2 separate regions of the Homo sapiens genome follow, and region 2 is linked to region 1. The links are contacts of gene promoters, found by promoter capture Hi-C in human tissues and cell types (Jung and others, 2019). All regions are on one chromosome and are shown on one strand. The core of a region is centred on a gene start or on the middle of the fragment in contact, and the rest is flanking DNA. Distances in the headings are between cores, read along the strand shown.

Region 1 (6,287 bases), core at 3,788-6,287:
TTCTTTCAATAAAACATGGCTCTCAATTTTCATTTCTGTGCCAAGAAGCAGGTAGTAATCATAGATAACACTTTTTTAGCATTTCTCCATATATTACTTATTATTTCAATTAATTTCTGGAGCACTTCTATGCAGAAAGTATTATCACCTCCATATTATCAAGAAAGAAAAACTACAGCTAGGGAAGAAATGAATGACCTGCCCAGAATTACTCAGCTAGCAATCGGTTTGAGGTGGAATCCACCTCGTCTGGTTTCCGGGTCTACAGGCTTCATCACACTGGAGGCTGCCTCAGTGTCAGAGGAATCGAGATAAGTCCCTCTAGTCACTTTACTGCCAGCCATGCTGACAGGCCCTTCAAGCAGCCACTGCAATGTTTCCACAGTAATGTGATTTTAACAATGGAACTCAATCACTCAAAAAAAAAAAGAGTGAATATATGCTTGCTAATAACTATGACTTATACAAGCTATAAATACTTCCTGACTAGAAGTTTACACTCTACCAACATTCATACACAGCAATTATCTATCTATCCACCTTACGTATTGCTAGGAATTCTTACATTTGCAGAACAAATAAGAGAATAAGACCGGCCGGGCGCGGTGGCTCAAGCCTGTAATCCCAGCACTTCGGGAGGCCGAGGCGGGCAAATTACAAGGTCAGGAGATCGAGACCATCCTGGCTAACATGGTGAAACCCCTTCTCTACTAAAAATACAAAAAATTAGCCGGGCGTGGTGGCAGGCACCTGCAGTCCCAGCTACTCGGGAGGCTGAGGCAGGAGAATGGCGTGAACCCAGGAGGCGGAGCTTGCAGTGAGCCGAGATCGCGCCACTGCACTCCAGCCTGGGCGACAGAGCAAGACTCCGTCTCAAAAAAAAAAAAAAACCAGAGATTGAGAATAAGACCTTTACAAGGTGTATTGTGTGGTTCAAACCAGAAGTATGAAAAGAGGTAATGAAGAGGGATGAGTGAGACTGAAAAACACTGAGGCATAATATATACATGAAATGGACAGGGAAGCCAAGGTGAAGATCAAAGGTGTTGGATCACGTATCCAGGGATGCAGGAAAGTGAGGTGAAGACAGAGAGATCAGTATCCTCTGCCTCTGGCTCAGATGTGCAGTCAGTACGCCCTGTGGAGCAAAAGGGGCAGCCTCTGTTCCATGGGCCTTTCACTTACGGAATTCTTGGGTCAGAGATTAAAAACCCCTGCTGCTATTCAGCATCTTTGCTTGGAAAAAAGCCTCTAAATTGCAGGAGAGTTTGCATATTTTCCTACTCAAGTTAATTTCACTACTTTTAGTTTTTTGTTTTTTTTTTTTAAAGCCAAGTACAGAATCAGGCAAATGTAAAATGTATGCGTTATTGTCAAAAAAGTACAAACTGCTAATAGGGTTTTCCTTTAGAACTCAGGGCCACAGCTTTAAAATTAGATCCGCATTTCTTGCAGACAGGTTTACGGTTTCCTTTATATGTATTCACATTCTCATCACTCTTTAAACTTTTTCTCTGACATTACCCATTTCTCCCTTTCCAAGTTTCCAGGCTTTTGAAATTTAAATTCCTGATTTTAATATTAACCACACAGGCTAACAGCAGCAGCTATCTGCCAAGTGACAGATGAGATGGTAGGAGCAAATTTAAATTCATTGTCTTATGTTTGTTTATTCGGTGTTATAAATCACTACCACAGAAATCCAGGAGGGAAAAAGAATCCTTCAAGGTGCAAAGTCTGCAGTATTGAAAGAAAAGCCGTCTTAATACTTTCTTCCTTCCCCTTTGTCTCTTATGTTTTAGTGATTGAAAAAGGAGTGGGGTATGATGAGAGGAAGGGAATGTGAGTAGTCGTGGATCTGAAAGGAAAAATGGTATGCTCAGAGGGCCAGTCTGCTTCCTGCCTGTGTGTGCCTCTACCTGCTGCTGCAGACAGTAGGAACACACAAACTCAGGAGGATTCTGCAAAGCACCTAGCTGTGTATATTACTTCTCATGGCACTTACCTAAAATTCAATTTCATGGCCAGATGCAGTGGCTCATGCCTGTAATCCCAGCAATGCCCAGGTGGGAAGATTGCTTGAGGCCAGGAGTTCAAGACCAGCCTGGGCAACATAGGGAGACCCCGTCTCCACAGAAACATTTTTAAAATTGGCCAGGCATAGTAGCTCACACCTGTAGTCCCAGCTACTCGAGAGTCTGAGACGGGAGAATCAGATCGCTTGAGCCTGGGAGGTTGAGGCTGCAATGAACAGTGATCATACCACTGCACTCCAACCTGGGTGACAGAAGGAGACCTCATCTCAAAAAGTAATAATAATTTAAAAATTCAATTTCTTCACTGTCCATAAAATTGAATGCATTTGTTAATTCAGAATAATCTCTTATGTAAATAATGCCAAATGCAGTGTTATTCAAAAAGTATCTATTCCAAATATTTGCACAATATAAACATGAGCTAATATGTTCAAGAATTGAAACTAACACCAGTTTCACTGGCCATGCTGCATATTTCAGTGCCTATTTGTTAAAAGCACTAAGACTAGAGTTTAAGGTCAGTGTGTAGATCTGTTTGCTCATAAAACATTAATTGCATAAATGTTAAGGACCAGTTGCCAATAACAAAGATCTAATTCCTCAGGCATATGTATTCCAGTGAGTTTTCCAAAAGCAATTAACTGATAGGGAAAACTATCAGTTGATAAACATATGTCATAATATAGTATTTTTTAATGAGTGGGAACAACTTTTTGCTTAACTGCTTATTTTCTTTTTTGTTGTTGTTTTTTTGAGACGGAGTCTCTCTCTCTGTCGCCCAGGTTGGAGCGCAATGGTGCGATCTTGGCTCACTGCAAGCTCCGCCTCCCGGGTTCACGCCATCATCCTCTTGCCTCAGCCTTCCGAGTAGCTGGGACTACAGGCACGTACCACCACGCCCGGCTAATTTTTTGTATTTTTAGTAGAGACGGGGTTTCATCGTGTTAGCCAGGATGGTCTCGATCTCCTGACCTCATGATCCGCCCGCCTCGGCCTCCCAAAGTGCTGGGATTACAGGCGTGAGCCACCGTGCCCGGCCGCTTGTTTTCATATTGACATGAATATCATTCAATTTTGTGAAACTGTAATTATTTAAATTGTGAGTGAGTCAGGATCAGTATGAATGCAAAAATTACTCAGGATTTTTTGGAGGGAGTAGGGAATGGCCTCACTAGATTACAATGCAGAAACCTCAGTCTGTGAATTGGCTCATCTGTCTTTGACCATTTCACTATTTCTTTGCAGCATTCAGGATGAAAATTTACCCACTCAAGAATAGCTAACGATATGCTCCACTCTAAAAATTAAAATTCATCCTAGTTCTAAAACACATTTTAAAAGAGCAATGTTTTTATCACGACTCTTGGAAGTGAAAGGGGTGTTGTGTGGGTGTGTGTGTGTTGAGGGAATCGGCCTCCGATTCCCAGTGAAAATGTTCCCATGAAGTCAACGTTTCTGCAGTGACTCAGGGCACTGTGGAAAGCTCTCAGGAGCTCTAGGGTAATAATCAGACGTGTCCTGGCCATTACAACTCCATTTGTGTCAGATGATGTCATGCATATGTAAATTAACTAGATGTCACACAAAGGAGACCCATCCCACTTAGGATAAGACTAGGGACTGGTCCTTAGACATTAGGAAAGCACCAGGTCTCACCACTTCTTAAAACACTTGCTGCAGACGTGTGTATTCGGTTTCCCTGCACACCTGCTATATTCTGAGACAAAGAAAGGGACTTCAAAAAGTCCTTAAGAAAACCAAACAAACACTCTAAGTAGCAATGCTTCTGGTAGAAGAGAAACAAAATTCTGTCCCTTCCTTCAAGGCCCCTTAGGATTCACTCTGAGAAAGCTGGACAAAGCATGTCACAGCTTATGTCTGAAAGCCCGCAAAGCCAAGGAGTAAAAACCCAGGAAACGTGCAAGGAGGGTGCCCAGGGGGTTATGAAAGTTACTACAAATATTTCATTTCCTGAAGTGCACCTGCGAAGGTGAGTGCGGCAGGCGGAGGGGTCGGGGGTCCCGGCAAAAGGTACACGCGCCCGGACCACGCTGCTACTCACGCTTCGCCATCCCCGGAGTCGCCGTCCGAGGCCCCCTCCTCGCCGATGTCAGGCAGCGTAAGGAACAGGGTTCTGGGGCCAGCCCCGGGGGCCACGCAGGCGCCGAGCTCTCGCTCTCCGGGGCCAGGCTGGAGCGGGTTCCTGGGGAGCGCGGCCCAGACCCCGCCGGGGCCCGAGGGCGGCCGCGCTGGGACCACCAGGCGAGCAGGGGAGCAGCCCCCGCCGGAGGGAGTGGGGGGCTGGGGCGGGGCTTTACCCGCTCTAGGGCTACTGGGCCAAGAGAGCAGGGTCCCCACTGCTCCCGCGGCGCGGCTGGCGGCGGAGCCCCGGGAGTAGGGGGAGGAGAGCAGCGGGGCGGGCGACCGCCGCGAGGCGGAGGGGGAGTCCGGAGCCAGGGCGCGGAGGAGGGTCGGGGCGGTACCCAACGGGGTGCCCGCCCTGGAGCCCCCCGACCCTGCAGCGGCAGCACCTCCCGAGGGTCTGGAGGAGGGGCCTGCGGGGGGCGCCGTCGAGGTCTCGAAGAGTTTGGCCAAGAGAGACCCAAGGTCCAGCACAGCAGCCTTCATGCCTCGACAGTGGACACGCCGTCCTCGCCGCCGCCCGAGAGTTCAGACCGCGGAGATCCGGCCGAGGCGGCCCGGGCCGGGGCGAGGAGCCTGAGGTCCCCGCACCCGGAGCCCCGGAGGCCCCTGGCTCCCTCTCCTCCCCGAGGACGCTCAGCTCCGCGCCGCTGGGGTCGCCCTTCCCCGGCCCGGGTCCGTCCGCCGAGCGCCCCGGCTGCGGAGAGCAGCCCCGCCTCGTCCCAGCGCCGTGAGACCCCCGAGGGCCGAAGGGCCAGGAGCCCCGGGAAGCGCGGCCGCCGCCCGCCCCAGACGCCCGCCGCCCGCCGCCCGCCGCCCGCGGTTGCTACGTTCAACACACCCGGCCGCGCTCCAGGCTAATTGGGCCCCAGGTGCGGCTCGGGCTGTGCCCGCGGGGGACGTCCCACTCCCCGCCTGGTTCCGCCTTAAAGGAACACGCCCCCATTTCCCCTGCGCCCCGAGCCTCGCAGATCCCATCCGCCGAGCTCAGGGCCCAGGGCTGGGAAAGAGAATCCTGGCTCCAGAAGGTTCTGGAACTTACCCAGCCTGACAAGCTTGCACGTGCTGGGGTCAGGCCACCTCTCTGACGATAGGGAAGGTGGGTAGAAAGATGTATTTGGGCGAACGAGCTTGAAACAGCAGCATCCACTCCCCCACCCCAGGGTCCTACTCAAACCCTGTTACTAAGGGTGGGGTGGGAGCAACCGCGAGGTGCGCCACCCACTAACCTGCAAACAAGACCGGCTCTGAGAGCTGAAGTAGAAAGACCTACGCACACCTGTTTAAACACCTGTCGGAGTGAACCAAGAGACTGTGTAATTCAAATGTTTGAGAACTCAAATTATAATCGGAACGACTACAAATTCAAAGACAGATATGGAAGGCAACGTTTTCTATTCAGTGGAATAAATTGTATTTTGCTTAATCTGAAAAATATGTGTGAAAGGTAGAGCGTATAGGTGCGAGCATCTAAAGGGGTGTGGGGTCAGTGTTGAACAGAGTTAAAAAATAAGATACTGCAGCCAGGCTCGGTGGCTCATACCTGTAATCCCAGCACCGGGATTGGGAGGTGGGAGGATGGCTTGAGCCCAGGAGTTCCAGGCCAGCCTGGGCAACAACATAGGGAGACCCCATCTCTACAAATATTTAAAAAAAAAAAAAATGCCGGGCCTGGTGGCGCATGCCTGTAGTCCCAGGTACTCGGGAGGCTGAGGTGATCGCTTGGGCCTGGAGTGAGCCGTGATCGCACCACTGCATTCCAGCCTGGGCAGTAGAGTGAGACCCTGTGTCAAAAAAATAGTAATGAGATATTGATGGAGTTTGTCCATTAATATTCAGGAGAGGATCTCAGGAGATACATTTCCTGATGTGGGGTAGGGAAAAGAGATGAATTAAGTCTGGCAGTGAATAAACTGACATTCATGCTTATATACTTGAATCTTTTGTAAGTTATCAAACTGGAGTCTGAGCCACGGTAAACTTCCAGGTAATGCTAAGTTTTGCGTTATTTGGAGGCAGTTAACAAGTCTTCTGTCATGATCCCTTTTCTACATCTAACTGCCACCAACATGTACTGGGCACTTGTCTGCTTCAAGATTGCATTAAGCA
Region 2 (6,287 bases), core at 1,527-4,026, 79 kb after region 1:
ACTGCTTTTGGAAAGATGATGACAGTGAGAGAAATCTGACATAGGTGACTCCATCTTGCTTCCGACCTCCAAGCTGTCCTTGGTCATTCCTGGATGTAAGCCAAGCTAACCTTGGGAAAAATTTAGTTTATAGTTTAACCTTAAGACAAGGATGATAACAGCCCTTCCCAGAACTGAACCACCTTTCTAGAACCAATGAAAGACCTCATGGTTAGGATTATGGGAGGGGCCTGAACCTGCTAAGAGACAGGTGTTGTTCCTACAATCCCTAACTACTCAGGGGTCACGTGGCCAGGGGTCACAAGATTTGAGACCTTCTCAATTGCTCCTATGGATGACATCACTACTGTAGAACCTAAGATGGGTTTTCTGAGATGTGTTTCAGACACACCCCACCTGGACTCCTGACTCCTGACTCACCTGATCCTGTGGCTCCACCCAGCAGCTGACTCAGAGCACGGGGATTGTTTCTGCACCCTGTGATTTCATCCCCAACCAATCGGCAGCGCCCATTCCCTAACTCCCCGCCCACCAAATTGTCATAAAGACTCTAACCTCTGAGCCTTCAGAGAGACCAATTTGAATGATAGCTCCAGTTCTCCCATGTGGTCCGGCTTCGTGTCAGTTAAACTCTTTCTGTACTGCAATGCTGTGGTCTCAGTGGATTGATTTTGTCTGTGCAGCCAGCAAGAAGAAACTGTCTGGCAATCACAGAGGTGCCGGGTTATTTTAGACAACCAGCTCTCCCATGAACTGATACAGCAAGAACTCACTCATTACCATGAGGATGGCACCAAGCCATTCATGAGGGATACATCCCATGACCCAAACACCTCTCACCAGGCCCCACCTGCAACATTGGGGATTACATCAGCATGAGATTTGGAGGGGACACACATCCAAACCATATCATTTGAGGTCTCCTTGGCTCAGAAGGGATCCATTCAGTCGGTTGAGGGCTTAGAGTTTTAGTTTTTGTTTACACGAGGCATGAGCGGAACTTATAAATGAATGGGGCAGAGGAGGACATTAAATAAGTAAAAATAAACCACCATTATGTGTATTTTGTTTTGTTGTAACTGCTGTGGCACTGTAAAGGAAATGAACAGGGCCTCTGACGTAATGGTATTTAGTGGGATGAGAGGTGCAGTAGAAATTATGGACTGGCTTTTCAGCTCCTGTTCCAACCCATTTATGGAATCACTTTCTGAACTACAGCTAGAATGCCTGTTTGAACTGCAGAGGCAGAGAAGAAAGAGAAGAAAGAAAGGACAAGAGAGATGAAAGGGAAGGAAGGAAGGGAGGGAGGGAGGGAAGGAAAGAAAGATGGATGAAAATTACACTTCCCAGCCTCTTGTAGCTAAGGTCTGACTGCCCCCCATCCCCTGCTTTGTGAGTCTTAGGTGAAGAAAATGAACAGCATAGCTCTCTGCAGTGGCTGTATCATAGCCAATGAGGTTTATCCAAGGCATGATTATTGCTAATTGAAAATGAGCAGCGCAAGGCAGTGGACCTTGTGAGGAGTTGAGATATTTTCACACACCTGGTGACAGAAGCACTAGATTCTTCTAGACACCTCCGCCAAAGCACTTTGCCTGTTCTCTGGGCTTGTAGGGGCTGAGAGGAAGGTGGTGATAGTGAGCTTTCCACAAAGTGGTGTCACTTTGCCCAGCAGCTATTCCTCCTGCTTGCAAAGCTTCCCAGCTCCCTTCCCCATGGTAACCGCCTTCGCTTTGCATCCATCACAGGATCTTGCACCTGAGTATTTTCCAGGTCTTCCCCCAAGGACAAACAGCGCTTTTGCTTCTTCCCCTCCCCTGAAGCAGTATCTGTGTCAGGGACAGTAGCTGGATTGTCCTTCCCTGTCCAGATCTTCCTCAGGAGCACACAGTGGAGATGGTGGAAAGAGCTAACACTAGGTGAATGCAGGTTCTCCTTGTGTCTCAGGCCCACCGGGGCTTTCTCAACCATCTAGCACACAAGCTCACACTCAGACTTTAAGAATTTGCTACATTCTGGCTGGGTTTTTTGTTTTGTTTTTGTTTGTTTTGTTTCGTTTTGCTTTTTTTGTTTTTGAGACGGACTCTCACTCTGTCGCCCCCCGGACTGAAGTGCAGCGGCGTGATCTCGGCTCATGCAACCTCCGCCTCCCGGGTTCAAGCGATTCTCCTGCCTCAGCCTCCCGAGTAGCTGGGATTACAGGCGCCTGTCACTATGCCTAGCTAATTTTTGTATTTTTAGTAGAGATGGGGTTTCACCATGTTGGCCAGGCTGGTCTCGAACTCCTGACCTTGTGATTCGCCTGCCTCGGCCTCCCAAAGTGCTGGGATTACAGGCGTTAGCCACCGCACCCGGCCCATCCTGGCTGTTTTCTTCCAACCTGCTTTTACGGCTGCTCCATCCACCCTCCTCTCACACTCTGCCAAGGGTGAAACCATCTGTGCGGCCCGATTCTCCCCGAGGGACCTGTCACTCCTCAGAACTGACTTCACTTGCTTGCCTTGCAACCTCAGCTTTCTGAAGTGCTCAAGAAAAGTTGGCACTGTGAAGATCACATGGCTTTTCCTCCTTGCTAAGGTGGGAGTGACATCTTTGTAAAGCCATCTACATATGAAGTGAAAACAGGATTCCCTGTTTCTGTTTCAAGATCCCACATGGGTGGTCTGAAGTTTAGTTCCCTCCCAGCAAGGGATCAACAGCATCCATGCTGCCAAAAGCTTCAGAAATGAACTCTGTGTTAACTCCGCGCATCTTTGAAGGGCCTACTATTTGCACATCACTCTACGAAGAGCTGAGATACTGAGATGAATGAGGCACAATCCTTGTCTTACCCTCGCTCACAATCCTGGGGGAGGCAAGGCACAGAAACGAGCGTCATAGAGTCATGAGTGCCGCCCCGAGAGTGGGAGAAACACGGTGGGAACGTGCATCTGAATAAGTAGCAGGCAGGGGCATGAGGAGGCAGAGTTATTTGAGTTGCTTCTTGAATTTTGTGTAAGTTTTCTATACTGAGACAGTAAAGAGGCATTCACAGAAAAGTGTTCCTTCTATTTCTCATTCTCTGATACACAGTTCCATTTCCTGGAAGAGTTTGCCTGGATCAGAACTCTCTAGATCCCATAGGCTGACCTGGTCTTAGCCACAGTGAACTCTGTGTCTGCGTCCTGCAGGTGAACCCAGCATTTCGCAAGGTCAGCGGGTTCTGCGGTGGCAGTATTAATAATAGAAACTTCGCTGCATTTGAATAAAATCAGTATTTTTTTCTTTAAAAAGCTTGATGCCAATATCTAATCTGCTTTCTTTCATATTTGTCCTCTCAATATTTATTTTTATTTTATTTTTTTTTTTTATTTTTTGTTTGTTTTGTTTTTTGGAGACAGGGTCTCACTCGGCCCTAGGCTGCAGCTGGAGTGCAGTGGCGTGATCTCGGCTCACTGCGACCTCTGCCTCCTGGGTTCAAGCAATTCTCCTGCCTCAGCCTCCCGAGTCGCTGAGATTACAGGTGCCTGCCACCATGATTAATTTTTGTATTTTTACTAGAGATAGGGTTTCACCATGTTGGCCAGGCTGCTCTCAAACTCCTGACCTCAAGTGATCTACCTGCGTCGGCCTCCCAAAGTGCTGGGATTACAGGCATGAGCCACCACGCCCCACCTGTCCTCTCAATATTTGTATTAACCTCTATATTTGTTGTCCCTGGAGGGGTGGATGTCTGGATATTAGTTTATTTGTTGGAACCACTGGGGTGTATTTCAGCACTGGTCTGGAAAGAATGGAGAGGCTTCACCGCTGCCAAAGCTCTCCTGGTTCGGCCTCACCTGGACGGTCGACTACATCGGTGCCGAGACAGGAACGGTGCAGCCCAAACAAGGACTCACTACAGTCAGACGCCCACGGGAACAGGGCTCATCAGCCAAAATCTAGTCGTTTTGTGAAAGGTGAGCCTGCGGCACGTTGAATGTAGAGAAGAGTTTTAGCAGAAGGTGTCAAGTCCCAGGCGTTGGAGTCTGGGGATCAGTCTGTGAACAAACCCAGGCTCAGAATCTGGTGAGAGGGGCAGAACAGGAGCAGGAGCCAGGACGGGAGCTGGGTGCCCAGCTGGGCCAGGGTGGGCAGAGTCCAGCCCCGCTGTCCCCTTCACCACCACTGGAGCATCGTTTCAGAAAGCCGTGCACGTCATCCACACAAACACACACAGACCACAGCTTTAAAAGCGGAGCCATACTGAACAAAAAGAGCACAGTCAGTGTGCACGGCAGTCCACACGCATGGTGCAGTGGGATTTACTTTAATGTATTAAACGTGGTAACAATACACACTGGATGGCAACTGTCGGAATAGATATAAAACATGTATGTTACAGGCACAAACCTTGTGATTTTAAGAACTAGAGAAAGATTTTTCAGCAATTGAGAAGTTTCCCTTTTTGTGACCTACTAACTAATGAAACAGGTTGACAAAGAGAGTATCGGACTATAAAAAAGGAGGAAAGACGGATCTTGTAGGAAATTCTGCAGTTTGGTCCCACGTAGGCTGACACACCAATGTTCTCCTGCCTTGATATTTAAGGGTCCCCCTGGGCCGGGGTCAGTGTGTGAGCCCTGCCCTGTACAATTCAATTCTGTTTGCAAACTAAACTGCTGGCCCGTTTGTGGTTGCCTTGGCACTCCTACTTAAGTCTTTTGCTGTTAATATTTTGAAATTTTGAATAAGTATGAAGGTAAAATAGTTGTCAACATTTGCCGGATATGATCTGTTTATATTATTTTATTTATTTTATTTGTTTTGAGACTGAGTCTCGCTCTGTTGCCCAGGCTGGAGTGCAGTGGCCTGATCTTGGCTCACTGCTCCCTCCGCCTTGTGGGTTCAAGTGATTCTCATGCCTCAGCCTCCTGAGTAGCTGGGATTACAGGCTCCCACCATCATGCTCCACTAACTTTTTTTTTTGCTGTATTTTTAGTAGAGACGGGGTTTCATCATGTTAGCCAGGTTGGTCTCAAACTCTTGACCTCAACTGATCTGGTGCCTCGGCCTCCCAAAGTGCTGGGATTACAGACATGAGCCATCGCGCCTGGCCACCAGGTATGATCTTAACTATTTTAAAGGTCATTATAAAAGAACTTTCCTTAAAAATCACTTTAAGCAAATGTTTCCTTATTAGAAGTGTTCCTTTGCATCCCATTTCCCTACTGAAGCATATGAAAAGGCATTTTCTCTTGTTTTGTTTCTGAATCTGATATTTCATTGAGAATATTTTTCTTGCAAGGGTGAGAAAAGTCACTACTCTGTTGTATAATTTGAAGCCAAGTATTACCATCCAATTTTTATCCTAACAGAGCAAAAAATTCAGCCATCTAAGTATTTATGATCATCCCCTTCTCAGTATTTTAATAGCTTGAAAGCAATTTTAAGCAAATTGGTGGTGGTATCTGGTAGCAAATATAACCTTCTCCAACGTAGGGCCCACACTCCCCATCATCCATTTCTGTCTGTACCAAACACACGCATGCTTATGGTAATGGTTGTGCAGAGGCGGCTGTCCTGTGTGGCTGCTCTGGAAATGTGGGTTATACCATCCTTGAAGAGAATCCCTGTGGGTGAATTATAAGAGGTTGAAGACACATATTGTCCAGAGTTTAAAGTCACAAAAAAATAAAGCATTTTCTTCGTGGTAAGACTTATCGGTAGGGCTAGAAAGGACGTAATTACATAGAATATAAATTATGTTTTCATTGCATGTATATAAATGGTGATGTTATATATCTAGGTAAAAATCCTGAAACATAGAAGTGAATTAAAGAAGTGTTTTAAATAACAGATAAATGTGCATTTTCCTCAATAATAACTCATTTATTCAGTTTTATACTTTTACATTGTTTTATGCTTTTATTTGATTCTCATCATAAGTCTATGAGGTGGACAAGGAGATATTGTTTGCTCATTTAGCTGATGACAAATTACATGCATATTTAATCAAGATAGAAAAATCTTGATTCTCCCTTGGCAAAGCTGAACTAAGGATAGATTAAATACATGCTGCACTGCCCCAAAGACCAGATAAAACCCTGCAGCTGTCATTACCCAGACAAGGGAGGCAAAGCCAGGATGATTCTGCCCTGGATTTTGTGAACTGTGTCAATCCATTCCCTTTGCTTTGGGAGTGGTATATTGCTCTGGGAATCACTGACAATATGGGAGGAGAAATAAAAACAAGCTTCTTGATTTCCAGTTCTGATCTCTGAGCGCTAGAGGACAGTATTGTTCTCTGCACAGCGCGCGGAGAACCC

What was found. The method cuts DNA at HindIII sites, captures the fragments that hold promoters and counts their contacts. A contact is called where the count stands out against the background at its distance.
Region 2: a contact is called between a fragment that was not itself captured here and the fragment with the promoter of FAM149A in region 1, in 2 of the 25 tissues and cell types used here (bladder and spleen).

Annotation. Positions count from the first base shown.
Region 1 is chr4:186,103,454-186,109,740 of GRCh38, reverse strand. It overlaps FAM149A (family with sequence similarity 149 member A), which reads right to left and starts at 5,037. Exons shown (of 14, transcript NM_001395294.1): 1 at 4,099-5,037. The coding sequence starts at 4,664. LOC124900171 (a long non-coding RNA gene) reads right to left here and starts at 2,047. Exons shown (of 2, transcript XR_007058421.1): 1 at 2,006-2,047. RefSeq lists a silencer at 5,058-5,117. The HindIII fragment of the contact is 14,554 bases long and covers 1,104-6,287 here.
Region 2 is chr4:186,021,723-186,028,009 of GRCh38, reverse strand. LOC124900830 (a long non-coding RNA gene) reads left to right here and starts at 5,045. Exons shown (of 3, transcript XR_007058420.1): 1 at 5,045-5,082. It also overlaps the pseudogene RNU4-64P. RefSeq lists an enhancer at 1-900. The HindIII fragment of the contact is 3,937 bases long and covers 808-4,744 here.